Linked DNA regions of Homo sapiens: region 2 is linked to region 1. Evidence: promoter capture Hi-C in human tissues and cell types (Jung and others, 2019). All regions are on one chromosome and are shown on one strand. Each heading gives the region's core, a stretch centred on a gene start or on the middle of the fragment in contact. The rest is flanking DNA. Distances are from core to core; before and after follow the strand shown. Region 1 holds the start of ACMSD (aminocarboxymuconate semialdehyde decarboxylase). Region 2 has its middle 58 kb from the start of ACMSD.

The links. The method cuts DNA at HindIII sites, captures the fragments that hold promoters and counts their contacts. A contact is called where the count stands out against the background at its distance.
Region 2: a contact is called between a fragment that was not itself captured here and the fragment with the promoter of ACMSD in region 1, in 1 of the 25 tissues and cell types used here (mesendoderm cells).

Annotation. Positions count from the first base shown.
Region 1 is chr2:134,837,330-134,839,968 of GRCh38, forward strand. ACMSD (aminocarboxymuconate semialdehyde decarboxylase) reads left to right here and starts at 1,287. Exons shown (of 10, transcript NM_138326.3): 1 at 1,287-1,410. The coding sequence starts at 1,354. The HindIII fragment of the contact is 2,006 bases long and covers 616-2,621 here.
Region 2 is chr2:134,779,149-134,781,787 of GRCh38, forward strand. No RefSeq gene overlaps it. Among named protein-coding and RNA genes, the nearest start is that of ACMSD, 58 kb to the right of the region's middle. The HindIII fragment of the contact is 6,962 bases long and covers 1-2,639 here.

The sequences.
Region 1 (2,639 bases), core at 37-2,536:
TTTTAGCTCACTGAACTTCTAAAAAAATGGATTTCAAGGATTTCCTTTATTTTCTTTCAAGCTGTCTGTTATAATTTATCCAGAATCTAGCTGAATTACAGAAGGAAGCTTTTTGACTACTCAATTTATGTGTTGTGGAGTCTGAGCTGAAGGCAGCAACCAAGGCAGGTTTAAGGGTTTGCCAGGGGACCTGGGGTCCCTTGAACATTTTAAGCTGTTCAGGAAGAGGAAAGGGTAAACACAGAACAATCAAGGGCTGTTTTGTTCCAGGCTCTCTTTAGAGGCATGACCATATAAGCCCCACTTTCTGCTATATTGGAAGCCCTCCCTGACTGCTCTGATAATGCTAAATGGAAATGGCTACTATCTTCTTTTCCCTACACTTTAGGATATGTATCATCTTTCTCTCAGTCAACCTTACATCGTCAGCATATAGCAGTTCTCCATAAATGTTTGTTAAATGCATGAATGAAGCTGGGTGCAGTGGCTCTCGCCTGTAATCCCAGCACTTTGGGAGGCAAAGGTGGGTGGATTGCTTGAGCCCAGGAATTCCATACCAGCCTGGGCAATATAGTGAGACCGCATCTCAAATTAAAAAACAAAAAAAAAAGGAAAAAAATGCATGAATGAATGAGTCCAAGACAAAGGCACTGGAGGAAAAAACATATATGAAGAGTGGACTCTTTCTGTGATTTAAAATGTGAAACCTCCCCATAACTTTTCAACACGTTAAATTTTCATGAACAAGACAACTGTTAAATATTATTTAAAGATATGGGAGTAACTAACTGAACAAAAAGCAAAATCATAAAAACTGGCTGCTTCTGAATAGTGCAAGGAAAAGTAAGAAAAGGTGAGTCAGGGATCTATCCTTTTTCTGTAAAAGCCCTCTGCATGGTTTTATTTTTAACTACAAACTATTTAATTATTAACTATGTACAACTAAGTTAAAATATTTAAAATGAAAAATCAGTCAATTTTTGACCTGCTGTAAGTCAAAGCATCCTGCTGTGCTTTTGACCTCATACAGTTGAGTACAGTTGTTTTTTTGTTTTTGTTTTTGTTTTTGTTTTTTTAAGTTTTGTGCCAAGAGTCCTGACTACCAAACTGTGTTGACCCAAAGCTTGATTAACAAATAAAGCTTGGTTAACCAAAGCTTGGTTAACAAATAAACAGAACTTTGAACTTTAATAAAGCAGTTCTAATGGACCTAGACTGGGTTGGGCAGGCCTACTGACTGCTGCCTGAAGGTTGCTGTAAAGGGACTAAGTAAATCAATTAACTCCACAGTTTTCACAAAGGTCTCTTGATATCAAAACTTCTTTCCTTGCATGCTTCTCTGATCCTGTGGAGATGAAAATTGACATCCATAGTCATATTCTACCAAAAGAATGGCCAGATCTAAAAAAGGTAATGGTAATTAATTTGCTGAATTATTTCTGAAACTTCTCCAGGGTTTCTCAATGCCTTTCTCTTCTTTGTGGAATTAGATGTCTAGTTTATCTGCTTTGGTGGGGGGCGAGGGGGTTAAATCATTTGGTAGTTCTGATTTTCTAGCTTTTAAAAATGACTTTTATATTTATTTTGAAATAACATTGGATTAAAGAAATAAGTGCTTTCTCAGAAACCCTTTTTTCCCTCAAATGAACCATTCTTTAAAATATCTGGACAATTTAAATAAGGCAGATTTACCTTTTCAAAAATCACATATTCAGCTGCTGGGAAGATACATGCCAACTACAGAATTTAAAGTTACAATTTTAAGTAGAAGACCATTAAAAATGGAATGTGATCGGTTTCAAGGACTTCTAAAATATATCTCCTTTCCAAAATGTTTAAAATAAGTTTTAGAAGCACCAAGAGATAGCTTTGTGAATTTTTTTAGTCTATTTTAGGACACTGCCTGAAACCTTTACTGTTTGATGTTCTTTATTCTATAAATCTTTGTCCTGAAGAACTAGGAAGTAGGTACATCAAAAAACCCGAGAATAAATGACATGAAGCTTTTGCACAGTGACATCTCCTAAGAGAGTATTCTTTGTGTTTCTCTAAAGATGGAAATTTCCTTTTGTCATTAAGAACTTTTGAATGAATATAAAAAGAGGAAGGTGAGGAACATGAAAGAAATGTAAAATTGGCTAGAGGTTTGTTCAGGCTTAATATCAGGTTTTACCCAATCTTCAGCATTCTGCCAGTACTTTCACACCACCGATAATGTTTCAACTTTTTTATCCCAAGTGAGGGAAAATGAATTAACCCAAACTTGAATTAAATGTGGTTCATTGTGCAAATAGATGAAACTATTTTCTTCTCATAGTTGTCTCATTGAAGAATGTTTATCTTAAGTATTTCTTTGTCCATTGGTATCTTAGGTAAGAGGGGTGGTAGAAACTGTGGATTGAAAAACAAAATCTTTGAAAGCCTATCCTATGCACAGCTAACGATAAAAGATAAACCTCTCAACCTGCTCTTCCTAAAAGGACTCTACATGTTTACACAGGAACATGCTGTTCTGAGTGCTGTTGTCCTCATCATAGTTTACTGAAGTGTAAACCACTTCACAATGTTAATGATTTCATGAAGGGAATGCACCAGTTACTTTGTGGGAGTGCATCTGCCTTGTTTAGAAGCTGCATGCA
Region 2 (2,639 bases), core at 42-2,541, 58 kb before region 1:
GAATTGTTCACAATGCACAAACAAAGCAAGGAAAGAATTAAGCAAAAAAGCAGAAATTTATTGAAAACAAAATTACACTCCACAGGGTAAGAGCAGGTCCCGAGCATAGGGCCTCAAACGCTCAAGAGCCGGTTATAGAATCTTCTGGGGTCCAAATACCCACCAGAGGTTTCCCATTGGCTACTTGATGTTTACCCCATGCAAATGAAGTAGTGGCTCACAATCAGTCTGATTGGTTGTGACCAATCAGAGGTACTTTCCATTTTCCATATGCCTGCAGAAAAGTGGGGTGGTAGGGGTTGCAAAGGGAGTAGCCTCTGGTCCTTTTGCTACTTAGGCATGGAAAGTTGGGATTTTCCTCTTGATTTAGTTCTAGGAAGTCAGCGTGAATTGGCCTTAGTTTCCCTGCCTCCAGACCCTATTCTCTTGTCTCAGTCCCACCACTGACTAGCCGTGATCTTGAGCAAGTCATTTTTCTCAGTGCCTCAGTCTCCTCGTCAGTAAAATGGAAATAATAGTACCCACTTCCTAGGGTTGTCATGAACGTGAAATAAGTTGATATTTGAAAAGCACTTGAAATAGCGCCTGGCCACACAGTTGGTGCTGTGTTTAATGAATGAACACTGCTCTCAGAACCTCAAACTCCGGAGGGTCCCCTGTGGTTGAAGGCACAGGGCACGTGTGAGATAACCATTTAGAATTTTTAAGTGTAAAATTATTTTTGTCCAATCTTCTTTTGGAATCTGGGCAGGTCCTTGGGCTGCAAAACTTCTTTTCTCCTAAACCTCTGTACTATGGATATAAGTTTCTTTTGCCTGTTTCTTACACTAAAGGACTGTGGAAATGAATAAGGAAGATGTCTGTGAAGTGCTTTGAATTCTCTGCAGGAAAAGTGTATCATAAATAAAAGGTGATCTAATTTTTGAGGCACTTTTTTATAATCTTTTATGTCTAACTGTTTCACATTGTTGTCTTTCTTCTAGTATTCTCTATTTACCAGGTGAAAAAAAGAAAAAGAAAAAAGAATACCAATCAAAAATATGATGTTTCATGAAATGTTTGTCCCTCAGCTCTCTCATAAAATTTAGAGCTGGGTGGCCTATGATATGTATTTAATATATTTTCTTATGTTTGTATTTAATATATTTAGATTTAAAATAAATTTTCATGTGTTAAACAGAAGAAGGGATTTCTCTTACACTGAATCCGGAAAATTAATCTGACATCTATCTAAAAATAGAGATGGTTTCTTTTCTAATTTTTTTATTTCTGGAACAGGGTCTCACTCTGTCACCCAGGCTGGAATGCAGGGGCACAATCTTGATCTTGGCTCACTACAACCTCTGCCTCCTGGGTTCAAGTGATTCTTCCACCAGCCTCCCTAGTAGTTAGAACTACAGGTTTGCACCACCACACTGGCTAATGTTTGTACTTTTTGGTAGAGACAGGGTTTCACCATGTTGGCCAGGCTGGTCTCAAACTCTTGACCTCAGGTGATCTGCCCACCTCGGCCTCCCAAAGTGCTGGGATTACAGGTGTTAGCCACTGCGCCCAGCCTGTTTTCTTTCTTCTATGTCCTTTTCTCTATTTTTGAAAACCCACTGCTGTTCATTTGCCTTTCCCAGATGTTAGCTGGAAAGTCTAAATCTTTTTTAAAGCCTAGGTAGAAGAACTCACAGACACACAAAAGTGTTGATAAGACCAAAGGTGGAAGTTACATCAAAATCTCACAGAATTCAAAATTCTGCATCGTTGCCACTTCATCTTCCATTATTAAATGCATAGAAATCACAAGATGTGTGCCTGTGAGAATTTCTTGAATTAACAAACATCCAAAAATGTAGAACTAATGGGAATGACATTTAGGCTTTGAGGCAGGGCTAAATTCAGATTTTAAAAGGTGGTCAGCTGTTCAATGCAGATGTTGTTTTAATCTAGTGCTATGATCATTTCATCAAACGAGCATGTTTCTTGAAGTGGCAGGAAATTTGGGTCTTGAGATATGTTTAAAAGGGGTAGTTCCTGTGATCCTCCTAGGTGCATGTGTGAATTACACTCAACTGTGTCCTCTCCCAGGATCTTACCAGTGTTTTTTCAAACTGGGTCATGACCTATTCATAGGCCTTGAAATCAACTTATGAATTAAAGCTAGCATTTAAAAAAATAGAATAGGAGATAAAAGAAAACACAACATCAGAGGAATGCATTATGTGTTCAAAGAGAAAGCTTTGTTTCAGTTCATTTATGAGTGTGTGGGGGTGTGTTTGGTTAAGATACAAAATGTGTTTTTTAGGGTGAGTTACAGTTAAATATCTTTGAGAGCCACTAAGATTACTACACGCAGATTTCCCAGCCCATCATATTGCTAGTAGGAGAGAAAACTAGTACAAACCTAATGGAAAATAATTTTTCAAGAAGTTTCATAGACCTTGAAATTAGCCACACCTCTAAACCACTTATTTCATCTTTGGTTATCTACCTTAAGGAAATAATCCAAAATTCAGCAAAGGCTTTGCACAAAAATATTCACTACACTGTTATTCATTATACTGGAAATCCCAAACAGCTTAAATGCTCAAAACAGCAACATTAAGTCCATTTTAGAAGATGAAAATGGTTGAGTATTGTGTCATCATTAA